Linked DNA regions of Homo sapiens: region 1 is linked to region 2. The links are contacts of gene promoters, found by promoter capture Hi-C in blood cells and fetal thymus (Javierre and others, 2016). All regions are on one chromosome and are shown on one strand. The core of a region is centred on a gene start or on the middle of the fragment in contact, and the rest is flanking DNA. Distances in the headings are between cores, read along the strand shown.

The links. The method cuts DNA at HindIII sites, captures the fragments that hold promoters and counts their contacts. A CHiCAGO score of 5 or more calls a contact.
Region 1: a fragment that was not itself captured here is called in contact with the fragment with the promoter of LINC00525 in region 2 in 2 of 17 cell types (total B cells and naive B cells); the score reaches 6.5 in total B cells.

The regions. Positions count from the first base shown.
Region 1 is chr7:47,713,245-47,719,881 of GRCh38, forward strand. No RefSeq gene overlaps it. Among named protein-coding and RNA genes, the nearest start is that of LINC00525, 45 kb to the right of the region's middle. RefSeq lists enhancers at 1,955-2,034, 2,587-2,881 and a silencer at 2,587-2,881. The HindIII fragment of the contact is 1,365 bases long and covers 920-2,284 here.
Region 2 is chr7:47,758,139-47,765,017 of GRCh38, forward strand. It overlaps LINC00525 (long intergenic non-protein coding RNA 525), which reads left to right and starts at 3,338. Exons shown (of 3, transcript NR_038407.1): 1 at 3,338-3,375; 2 at 5,235-5,440. The HindIII fragment of the contact is 4,383 bases long and covers 2,335-6,717 here.

The DNA.
Region 1 (6,637 bases), core at 352-2,851, 47 kb before region 2:
TTTAGAATGCATGTGGCAATATCTGTCCCAAACTATATTTTATTTTCCCTGGCCCAGGAATCAAAATTCTTTTTTTTTTTTTTGAGACGGAGTCTCGCTCTGTCACCCAAGCTGGAGTGCAGTGGCGGGATCTCAGCTCACTGCAAGCTCCGCCTCCTGGGTTCATGTCATTCTCCTGCCTCAGCCTCCTGAGTAGCTGGGACTACAGGCACCCGCTACCACGCTTGGCTAATTTTTTTTTTTTGTATTTTTAGTAGAGACAGAGTTTCACCGTGTTAGCCAGGATGATCTCGATCTCCTGACCTTGTGATCCGCCCTCCTCGGCCTCCCAAAGTGCTGAGATTACAGGCGTGAGGCACCGCGCCTGGCCAGGAATCAAAATTCTAAGAGTCTATCCTAAGGAAATATTTCAAAAGAGGGAACACTTTAGAAGCAGCATAATTCTCCTTGTAGTATTTTATGCTTGAGGAAGAAGACAATCACCTGTAGTAGGGGTTGGCAAACTATGTCCCACAGGCCAAACTGGCCTTCCGGCTGTTTTAGTGAATAAAGTTTTATTAAAACACAGCCACGTTTGGTGGCTCGTTTATGTTTTGTTTTCACACAATCACAGCAGAATCGAGCAGCTGGAACAGAGGCCATGTGGCTCCTAAAGCTGAAAAATATTTACTACCTGGCCTCTTTTGTGGTACTGAGCTTTGAATCCTGAATTATGATATCACTCTATTCATCAAGTTATTCTCTTTATAGCCTTCTGTAAATCTTAAATTTAATCCTAGATATTTCAGATTTTTTTTGCTGTTGTGAGTAGAATACTTATTAAAAATGATATTCTCTTGCTAATATTGAAAAAGCTTTTGATTTCTAAATATTTATATTATAACCGACCACACTCTGAATTCTCTTATTTCATCAATTAAGCTTTACTTGATTCTCTTGATTTTTTTTTTTTTTTTTGAGATGGAGTCTCGCTCTGTTGCCCAGGCTGGAGTGTAGTGACATGATCTCAGGTCATTGCAAGCTCTACCTCCCGGTTTCACGCCGTGCTCCTGCCTCAGCCTCCCGAGTAGCTGAGACTACAAGCGCCCGCCACCACGCTTGGCTAATTTTTTTGTATTTTTAGTAGAGACAGGGTTTTACTGTGTTAGCCAGGATGGTCTCAATCTCCTGACCTCGTGATCCACCTGCCTAGGCCTCCCAAAATGCGGGGATTACAGGCGTGAGCCACTGCGCCCAGCATCTCTTAAGATTTTGTGTAGATATTTTAAATTAGTTTTAAATAATTAGTTTGTAATAATTTTAATTAGTTTATCTGGAAGTAATAAACTAATAGTTTACCCCCTCACTTCCAGTATTTTTCTTTCATCTTCTTATCGTACTGAATCACTTGCTATTTCTAGGTCAGTGTTAGATACCAATAGTGAAGATGAGTACCATTCTGCTAATTTTGAAATAGCCTTGACCTAGTTACTCAGAAGTCAGGAGCCTGAAGCTAGCCCTGAAAATCCTGATTGCAAAGAGTTTTATATTCCCCTGAAGAAATTCCTCCTGATCAGCTCACTCCACACAAGGCAGCTGCACACAGAGCAACTGAGACATCCATGCTCTGAGCAGAGTTCCGGGTCAGCCCTACCTGGGCCACTGGGGAGGAAGCCATGAATTCTTTCTGCTCTCTGATCACTGGGATGTTGGTTCCAATGCTTAAGATTTCCCCCCCAGGCACATAAAGACAGGTGTGAGGAATACAAATTTCAGAAGCTAAATAAACCAAATAAAACATTTTAGTCAAAATATGAGGTAAGCACCCACAGTACGGAGGGTGAAAACATCTGTGCTTTGATAGACAGGTTCTGTTTCTGTCCTATCTCCTAAAATCTCAGTGACACTGGCACGCCTTCTCTGAGTCTCAGTTCTCTCAACTGTAAAATGAGAAATAATACCTAAACTCTAGAGTTCTTGCAAGAATTAGAAATAATTCGTAAGTATGGTTTGTAGGAGATATTGAATATATAATTAGTAAGTATCACATGTAGGAAATATTGAATAAATCCTCATAAAACAGCAGCAATAACCATCAAAACTTTCTCGGCAATTTGAGGAAGTTCCATTGGGTGCTGAAAACACAACTGTCCTTTGAACACAAGGATTGACTGTGGGGGAGATGCTGTGGTCTTGGATGGTTGTCATTTGCATAGTTTCTCTTTCAGGTTTCTTTCCTTCCAGCCATGCAGACCAACATCCAATATGATCACAGCAGATGCAATCTCAGTCTTTACTTAAAGTAAGCTTCCTTTGCTACAGAAAGGCCTAATCTTTTCCATTCATTTTTTGTGGACCACCACAGTGCGACACCCCCACCCCAACCCAAGTAGGCACATGACAATTGTGAAGTAACCAGAGGTCATTGGTTGTGACCCGCGGGTAGCCATTTTGACCCATGAAGGCCCTGCGTGGGGCAGGGCAGGTTACATGTCAACATATACTTCTGGAAAGTGCTTGATCATATGTTCAACTAAGAAACCATTGGCACCTCCTCTCATCCCATGCCTAAGTCCTTTCCTCAGCATGCTCTGTTAGGGAGACCCCACCTATTTTGTCTCTGCCTAACAATCATACATGGGGGCCTAATGTCCCTGGTGTTACAGATTAATGTACAACATTGTCACCCCTGCTAAAGAAGGACTCGCTGGGCTTCCCATCTGTAAACAAGAAGGCAGGGCTTGCATGCATGAAACACAAGGACCCTGGACTTGGTGCAAAGGGCTCTGACTTGGTGCCCGGCTCTCCAGCTGGATCTAGGCCTGTCCTTTAATTTTCATGTCTCAGATGTCTAACCCGAAAAAGGGGAGAGAATTCCAATCATTACTCTGTGTGGAAAAAGTAAAGCGTCTCTTTTTTGATGGGATCTTTATCCATTAATAATTTAGTTGGACTAAATTATTTACATTTAACTTGTTAAAGGTCTATTTATTTATATATTTTTAAATTTTTATTTATTTATTTTTTTGAGATGGAGTTTCTCTCTTGCTGGAGTGCAATGGTGCGATCTGGGCTCACTGCAACCTCTGCCTCCCGAGTTCAAACGATTCTCCTGCCTCAGCCTCATAAGTAACTGGGATTACAGGCACCTGACACGAAGTCCGGCTAATTTTTGTATTTTTAGTAGAGCCGGGGTTTCGCCATGTTGGCCAGGCTGGTCTTGAACTCCTGACCTCAGATGATCTGCCTGCCTCGGCCTCCCAAAGTGCTGGGATTACAGACGTGAGCCACCGCTCCTGGCCCTATTTATTTTTTTAACCTAATGACCTAATAGCACTTAATAAATAAATTTATTGTCTATTGATGATTCCTAATACATAAGCCATTAAAATCCATCCTGGAAGAATGCCAAATATTATTCCGAATTAAAATAGAAAGTAAGAAATATCGGGGTTTGGTGCAGTGGCTCATGCCTGTAATCCCAGCACTTTGGGAGGCTGAGGCAGGTGGATCATGATGTCAGGAGTTTGAGACCAGCCTGGTTAACATGGTGAGACCCGGTCTCTACTAAAGATACCAAAAATTAGCCAGGCATGGTGGCGTGCACCTGTAATCCCAGCTACTCGGGAGGCTGAGGCAGGAGAATCGCTTGAACCCAAGAGGCGGAGATTGCAGTGAGAGGAGATTGCTCCATTGCACTCCAGCCTGGGCGACAGGGCGAGACTCCATATTAAAAAACAAAAACAAAACAAAACAAAACAAATATCAAGCTTTGTAAAAGTGAAAAAAATCCTTGCAACTATTCACAGTTTGTCATATGTGTAGGGGATAAGTATTGAAGTGGGCAAAATATTTTCTCTCCCTTTATTTAATCATCACAATTACTCTACAAGGCAAAAGCAATTAGAACAGTGTCTGGGCCAGAAATAAATCTGTATATCTATGGGAAGTTGATTTTAAATTAGAGCACAAAGACAACTCTTTTTTTCTCAACAAATGGCTCTAGGACAACTGAAATCCACATGCAAAACAGTGAAGCTAGACTCAAACCTCACACCATATACAAAAATCTACTCAAAAATGGATCAATGACCTACACGTAAGAGCTAAAGCTATAAATCTCTTACAACAAAACATAGGACTGAATCTTCCTGACCTTGGATTTAACAGTGGTTTCTCAGATATGACACCAAAAGCACAAACAACCAAAGAATAATAGATAATTTCAGTATTCAGAATATAAAAAGAACTCATACAACTCAACAATAAAAGGACGAATAACCTAATTAAAAATATACAAACTGAATAGACATGCCTCCAAATAAGATACACAAATGGCCACTAAACACACGAAAAGATACTCAACATCCCTAGTCTTTAAGAGAATTAAATCAGTACCACAATGAAATACCATTTCACATTCACAGGATGGCTGTAATCAGAATGACAGACAACAATAAGTGTCAGTGAGGAAGAAGAGAAATTGGAGCACTCCTACAAGGCTGGTGGGAATGTAAAATTGTATAACCACTGTGGAAACAGTCTGGAAGTTAAGCATATAATTACCCTACAGCCTAACAACTCTGCCCCTAGGTTATATACCCAAGTGAATTAAAAACATGTTCACACAGACCGGGCGTGGTGGCTCATGCCTGTAATCCCAGCACTTTGGGAGGCTGAGGCGGGCGGATCACGGGGTCAGGAGATCGAGACCATCCTGGCTAACAAGGTGAAACCCCGTCTCTACTAAAAATACAAAAAAATTAGCCGGGCGTGGTGGCGAGCGCCTGTAGTCCCAGCTACTCAGGAGGCTGAGGCAGGAGAATGGTGTGAACCCGGGAGGTGGAGCTTGTGGTGAGCCGAGATCACGCCACTGCACTCCAGCCTGGGTGACAGAGCAAGACTCTGCCTCAAAAAACCAAAAAACAAAAACCAAACAAACAAAATGTTTACACAATAATTTGCATATGAGAGTTTTTAGTAGCATTATTCATAATAGCCAAAAGGTGGAAACAGCTCACATGTCCATCAGCAGATGACTGGATCAACAAAATGTGGCATATAGGTGCAATAAAATATTATTCAGCCGTAAAGAGGAATGGAGTATTGACACGTGCTGCAAGGTGGGTAAACCTTGAGAACTTTATGTTAGGTGAATGAAGCCAGATCCAAAAGACCATGTTTAATATGATTCAATTTATATTAAGTGTCCAGAATAAGAAAATTCATAATGACAGAAAGTAGGTTAATTTGTCATTGCCAGGAGGTGGGGGTAGGTGATGAATTGGGTGCAGGATTACTGCTAATGGGTACAGGGTTTCTTCTAGGGTGATGAAAATGTTCTGGAATTAAATCATGATGATGGTTTATAAACACGCTTTAAAAAGCCACTGAATTGTACACTTTACAATGGTAAATTTTATTACACGTGAATTTTCTCAATTTTAAAAATAAGTGCCTGAAACCCAGGGAGCACCTGGTAAGTGACGACTATTGTGACTATTAAATCCTGTCACCAGCCGCAATTTACACATGACGAACCATCTCTGAGGGAAAAGGTGCCTCACCTAGGGGCACAGGGCTGGATTGCACTGCTTCCAAAACCCACCAGTTAACCAAGATACCTTACATCTCTTCAGGATTCGTCTCTTCAAATCCTGCCAGTGACTTCCAACCCAGAGGGAGAAGGAGAAGGTAATATGCTGAGCAAAGAAATGTGTCTGATGAGAGTATGGTTTCTGTTTATTATATAGACAAGTATGACAGCATTTACATTTGCACATCTTCCTCTGTGATTAAGCATTACATGTTGTCTTCATGTAGCATTGTTGACCAACCTCCATTCAGAATGAAGTTTAGAGAACACATGCGGCTTCTTGAATCTGAGAAAGTGTTACTATGATTGTATTCCAAAGCTCCTACGAGCTTAGCATCGCCCTCAACCTTTGGAGTTGGAGAGAATGTGGAAGTTCTGGGTACACTGTTAAGTACTCCATAATGGCGAATTCCAGCAGTCATAGTGATCACCGAAAGGTCCTAATAGTAAGGCGTAGAAGTGGTGAGAGATTGGAGCCCTTGTGTTGGGGGGCAGGGAACATGAAATAGTGTGTCCACTGTGGAAAACAGTATGGAAGCTTCTCAAAATATGAAAACTAGAATTACCATATGATCTTGTGAGTCCATGCTGGATATACATGCAAAAGAATTGAAATCAGGGACTCAAGCAGATACTTGCATACCTGTGTTCATGGCAGCATTATCCACAGTAGCCAAAGGAGAAACAGCCCAAATGTCCTCCAGCAGATGAATAGATAAGCAAAATGTAGTATATGCATACAATGGAGTGTTATTCACCTTTGAAAAGAAAGGGAATTCTGTCACATGCTATGACACGGATGAACTTTGAGGACATTCTGCTACAGGAAATAGGAAATAGCCAGGCACAAAAGGACAGATACTGCATGATATTTAAGGAACCCAGAATAGGGACCTAGAATAGCTAAATTCATGTGACAGATGTAGAGTGGTCAAATTCATAGAGACAGAAAGTAGCGTGGTGGCTGCCAGGGGCTAGAGGGACGCAGAATGGAGAGTTTGTGTCGAATGGGGACAGACTTTCAATTTTGCACAACGAAAACATTCTGGAGATGAAGCGTGG
Region 2 (6,879 bases), core at 2,088-4,587:
TGGAATGCAGGCATTTCATGGTGTGGGAAGACAGTATTTTTACACTTTTCTCAGAAATTGGTCAAATTCTTTTTGCTCCCTGCTATTTTTCCCCTTCTCCCTCTCCCCTTTCCCTTTTCTTCATTCCAGCAATAGCTAGATCTCTACTGCACCCGAGAAAGGACATGACAGTGGCAAAGCAAAACAGTAAACAATCAACAACAAAACTCCTGAGCCCAGCTGGCTTTGATTTCCCAAAGCAAATCAGTCAAGTAATTAAGAAGGCATGAGAAAAACAGAAACACACACACACAATCTTTACTACCTGTGGGGAGGATTGTGAGGGAAAAAGAAAAATATATTCCTCTGTACCCCATGGGTTATGGAAGGAAGTGACAGATGTGAGGAGTGTGTGAGAGACAGAGACAGAGAGACAGAGACAGAGATAGAGAGACAGAGAGACAAAGACAGGAGGGACAGAGACAGACAGAGGAAGACAGACACAGAAATAGAAAGAGAGACAGAACAGAGAGAGACAGGCATAGACAGAAGTGTCTCCTGAGGTTGGGCCTCTGAGTCCTGCTCTCTGGGGAGTACTCTAGAAAAATGGCAAGATCTCAGGGACCTTGGTGTGTAGATGACTGATCGCCAAAGCAGGAGCTCTGGTCTTAGGCCAGATACACTGAAGCAGCCAAAGAGTCAAGTTTCCCTCTGGGCCGTGCCCTGGGGGTGCAGGGGTATATGAAAAGCTGCAGCTGGGTGCAGTGTTCCTCTAGGGCTCAGGAGAAGTGACAGACAGAGAGCCCAGGAAGCACCCACAGCCTGGGCCTGGCGCGTCCATTGGTGTGACCAAGACCTACATACAGAAAGGTGAAGGTGCACAATGAACTCAGACTTTATCTGAATAGGGGTAAGATCCATTTCAAAATTGGAAGTGGGGCTGATTTGAAAGAATCTATTTTATGAGGATAAACTGATGATGAGATAAATTCTATAGATAGGGTTTTCCTTGACTTCTAAGAGAATAGATACACAGAAGGTAATTATTGAGTTAGAGTTGTCTTTTGTTTCTAAGAAAATGATAAGACAATTTATATTTTTCACAGCCTTGCTTTCTTGCTCCACCAGGGGTCACAGCTGATCTTACACATTTCGGGGTGTGGGCACAACTTCACCACTCTTCCAGGGACCAATGTAAAGCCACCCTGGCACCACCCTTTGCTTACTGAAGATTCCCCCACCAAATCCACGTGCTACCTGTGCCTCATCCATCACTGGTTAATTACTCTGATTAAAATAAAGCAGTGATTTGATGTTTCCAAGGAGCTTCATTAGAATGAGAAAAAATTATATTTACCAAGGAAAGGAGGAAATGGTTGAATAAAAAATATGACAAGTAATTTAATTTTAGGTCAATGAATGCTCCACTGTGATTCAATTCTGACACATGAAACAAATAATGAGATGATCAAGCCCTCTTCTTCCTTGCAGAAACTCGCTAATCCATATGAATGGTCTGTTGTTCACGAGCATCTGGTTCCCTTAACAACCTGTGGCCTGTTTACTCCATGGGGAGAATCTGGTCCTCAGAGCAGCTTTAGGGTCCATGCACCTTACTGGACATCCATAATGCACCACAGAGTGTGGTGCAGCAATATGCCATGTGAGGATTTTTTAATCCTTGAAAAGTTGGGTGAAGAGGATAAGATTTTTCGTATAAGATAATACAGGCTTCAAAAAGTTGGAAAAAGAGCACATTTAGAAAGTCCCAGAGCTGGGATTTGAACCCCTGTGCTTCTGATTCTAAATTGCTTCCCACCACGCTCATGGTGACCTCTAGAAGGTGTTAGTGAGGTGGAGATGTACCCGGTAATCCTGCCAGTGCATCTGTGCACTGATTCTCTATTGCTGGCTGTCCTTCTTGGCATCTTATTCAACAATAGCTACTGTAAGGGGGGAAATAGTCTTATATTTTGTGAAAGAACTCAAATGGCCAATTCATATATGGCCAGTTTACTTAAGAATGAATTACCGACCGGGCACAGTGGCTCATGCCTGTAATCCCAGCACTTTGGGAGGCTGAAGCGGGTGGATCCCCTGAGGTCAGGAGTTTGAGACCAGCCTGGCCAACATGGCAAAACCTCATCTCTACTAAAAATACAAAAATTAGCCGGGTGTGGTGGCTGGCACCTAAAATCCCAGCTACTTGGGAGGCTGAGGCAGAAGAATTGCTTGAACCCAGGGGGCGGAGGTTGCAGTGAGCCCAGATTGTGCCACTGCACTCCAGGCTGGGCAACGGAGCAAAAACAAAAAACAAAAAAGAATGAATTACCAGGCTCTAAAAACCTATCAGTAAGCTTTTTTTTTTTTTTTTTAAAGACGGAACTTGATGCTAAGGAAATTGCAACAACACAATGTCCTAATACACTGTTGACAAGATTAAAAAATTTTTTATTTTTAATTTTTGTGGGTACACAGTAGGGGTATATATTTATGGGGTACGTGGGATGTTTTAATACAGGCATGCAATGTGAAATAGGCACATCATGAAGAATGGGGTATCCATACCCTCAAGCATTTATTCTTTGTGGTATAAACAATCCAATTATACTTTTAATTATTTTAAAATGTACACTTAAATTATTATTGACTATAGTCTCCCTGTCGTGCTATCAAATAGTAGGTATTATTCATTCTTCTATTTTTTTTTTTGGTACCCATGAACCATTCCCACCTTATCTCCCCAGTCCTCTACTATCCTTTTCAGCCTCTGGTAATCATCCTTCCTATTCTCTATGTCCATGATTTCAATGGTTTCGATTTTTAGATCCCACAAATAAGTGAGAACATGTGATGTTTGTCTTTCTGTGCCTGGCTTATTTCACTTAACATAATGTCCTCCAGTTTCGTTCCATCCATGTTGTTGCAAATGACAGGATCTCATTCTTTTTATGGCTGAATAGTACTCCATTGTGTATATGTACCACATTTTCTTTATCTGTTCATCTGTTGATGGACTGTAAATTTGCTTCTAAGTCTTAGCTATTGTGAACAGTGCTGCAACAAACATGGGAGTGCAGATATCTCTTCAATATACTGATTTCCTTCCTTTTGGGTATAGACCCAGCACTGGGATTGCTGGATCATATGCTAGTTCTATTTTTAGTTTTTTGAGGAACCTCCCAACTGTTCTCCATAGTGGTTGTACTAATTTACATTCCCACTAACAATATACTAGTGTTCCCTTTTCTCCACATCCTCACCAGCATTTGTTATTGCCTGTCTTTTGGATAAAAGCCATTTTAACTGGGGTGAGATATCTCATTGTAGTTTTGATTTGCATTTCTCTGATGATCAGTGACGATGACCACCTTTTCATATGCCTGTTTGCCATTTGTAAGTCTTCTTTTGAGAAATATCTATTCATTTCTGATTTTTTATTTGGATTACTAGATTTTGATTTCTGATTGGATTACTAGATGTTTTCCTGTTGAGTTGTTTGAGCTCCTTATATATTCTGGTTATTAATTCCTTGTCAGATGGGTAGTTTGCAAATATTTTCTCCCATTCTGTGGGTTGTTTCTTCACTTTAAGAAGATCATTAATTGCCTTAATCATTCTAAAAAGTGATTTGGCAAATAAGGGTTGAATTGTGTCCCCCAAAATGTCTATGTCCAAGTCCTAACCCCTAGTACCTCAGAATGCAACTGCATTTGGAAACAGGGTTTTTGAAAATGTGATCAAATTAAAATGAGGTTATACTAGAGTAGAGTGGGCATGTAATCCAATATGACTCATCCAATATGACCGGTGTCCTTATAAAGAAGAGGAGATTTGGCTGGGCATGGTGGCTCATGCCTGTAATCCCAGCACTTTGGGAGGCCGAGGTGGGTGGATCACCTGAGGTCAGGAGTTCAAGACCAGTCTGGCCAACATGGAGAAACCCTATCTCTACTAAAAATACAAGAAAAAAAAATAGCTGGGCATGGTGGCAGGCACCTGTAATCCCAGCTACTTGGGAGGCTAAGGCAGCAGAATCGCTTGAACCCGGGAGGCAGAGGTTGCAGTGAGCCGAGATTGCGCCATTGCACTCCAGGCTGGGCAACAAGAGTGAAACTCCATCTCAAAAAAAAAATTAATAAATACATAAAAAATAATAAAAAGGGGAAATTTGGACCCAGACATGCCTGGAGGGAAGATGATGGGAAGAGACACAGAGAGAAGATGGTTGTCCTCAAGCCAAGGAGAGAGGCCTGCAACAGATTCTCCTTCAGCCTTTAGAAGGAACAACACTGCCAACACCTTGATCTTAGACTTCTGTCCTCCAGAAATTGTGAGACAATGCATTTTTGTTGTTTAAGGCAACCAATTTGTGGAACTTTGTTCTGGCAGCCCTAGCAAATGAATACAACAAAATATATACTGTATTGAGAACCTTAATATTGGCAATACCATTTGCACAGGAACTCCTTGCCTTTGGTTGCCACCTAAGAAATCATGCATATGGACATGGAATTACACATAAAGTATATTTAGCTAGTTTTTCTTCAACATGCTATTGCAGGAGGACAATTCAAAAATCTTTCCAACTCCCACCTGATTTCTGAAGGTTCTCTGGGAGCCTGCGCATCAGCCATCAAAACACACTTGTCACATTTTTCTTTCCTTTTGGCCTCCTTTAGTGAAGTCAGCTGCCTGAGGCTGGGCGGAGGTGCTCAGCACTCCCTCTGGTTTGTGGGGGGCTGGGGTGGGTCACACTTATTCTACTGGATATCACTGTTCCTGGGCCCTGCCACCACTCTCAGCCCTGGTGCTGTGGATTCTGTTCATGAGAGGGGCTGAAGTCAAGCCTCCCTCTCAGGCCCAGATCTGAGTCTACAGGTCAGCCGGGGCTGGGGCCTCACGGTAGCAGGTGGTGACAGAGGACATGTCATTGTCGCAGTCACTGAGGACACTGGTTCTCATAGCCCAGCCTCTGTGCCTGGACCTCAGCTATAGGCCTGGCCCCATTGTGCTCTCCCTGATGAGAATCTCCAGGCCTTGAGCTACCTGACTCTTCCCAGTTGGCCAGACACATCCCAGTGAATGATCATCATCCTGCTCTCATCTCATAGCCAGCTGATCAGTCTGTTCACCCTCCACCTACTCAAGTACAGAGTGACACACCCCAAGCAACAATCGCATGAGAAATTCTACCACCTGGGGAGGGCAGAACTGGGACAGACTTCTTTCATTTTCTGATCTGCTTTTGCCAGATGTCCTCTGTAGCAAGAGGCAGGACAAACAGTGAGGACTGCACCAACACTCACCGGGTGACCCCTTTGCTTTGGAAACTTACTCAGGGTGAAAGGAATTCCGATTTTAAACAGCATCTCTTTGTGTGGCCTGTTTGAGGCACCACACAGAGCTTGCTGGAGCAGCTCTGTTGACCGCTGACCCTTGGCCTGCTAACTGAAACAAGGTGAGTATTTCTAAGGCTGTCGTGGCCACGGGAGGACCGGAGAATAAATGTGGACCTATTTACATTCTCTTTTCCCTGAAGGTGATAAATGGCTTCCCCCATCCAAACCAGGCCCCTCTAGGGCCTTTATTTGCTATTCTGGTTTTAAAAGGCAGACGGAGAATGTATTGAGTTATCTTTCAACTGTTTACTAGCAGAAGGGCAAAGATCAGATTACCAGCTCAGAGTGATTCATCTTTTCTCCCAAATCAAAGCCATATGTACACAGAGTCTGTGTACACATTAGTTCATTTCATTCATTCATCTAGGTCAGGAGAGGGAGACCTGGGACAAAGGTCCCGCAGAAAGAGATGGAGGCATCAGGCCACAGACAGTGAGCAGCATGGGTTTTTCTCTGCCTCCACATTAGGACTTTAATGTTTTTTTTTTTTGTTTAAAAAAAACAAAACTGCCTGATTTCCTGTCAGGCCAACTAATGATGTTTTTTCCCCAGGTTTCTGGTATAGAGGATGTTTTAATTTGAGAGAAGTTTCCACCTACAAAAACACATATTTGTCCGGGCATGGTGGCTCACGCCTGTAATCCCAGCACTTTGGGAGGCTGAGGCAGGAGGATCATGAGGTCAAGAGATCTAGACCATCCTGGCCAACATGGCGAAACCCCGTCTCTACTAAAAATAAAAAAATTAGCTGGGCATGGTGGCGCATGACTGTAGTCCCAGCTACTTGGGAGGCTGAGGCAGGAGAATCTCTTGAACCCCGAGTTCAGAGTCAGTCAGTTGAGATCGCGCCACTGCATTTTAGCCTGGTGACAGAGCGAGACTCCGTCTCAAAAAAACAAAAACAAAAAACCACATTTATACCTTTGGAAACATTAAGCCTCCAACTGTGAGAACGAAGATTCATATTTAAAGGGAAATGTGAGGTAATTCTGTGAATCTTAGACAGATTGATGGTACAAAATGGGAAGCGCCACCATCACTGATATTCTGAAATTATGGTTGACTGCAAATATCCAGAAAAGCATAAAAACAACATAATGAACGCCTATATTCTCACACACAAAACTGTAACATTTTGGCAGATTTTCATCAGCTCTTTTTCCTTAAGAAACAACACACACAAGGATCATGGAAGCCTCTCCATGCTTCCCACCCTGTCCTTAAACTGATGTTTTTCATCCCCAGAATGACGCTACATTAATGCTACAGATGAATGGCTCCATAAACTATATATAGCAAAGTATTGAACTTTTGTTGATTACATCAGTCTCTAACAAGCTTTTTTCACTGAACATTATGTTTTTGCAATTTGATAATGCCAACAGATGTAGCTACATCCATTTAACTAGTGTATTGCATTTTATTGTTACCAAACCGAACTTGGGTCCACCCATCCTGGCACAGCAAAGCCAAACACTGACAGTGGGATTTGCAGTGA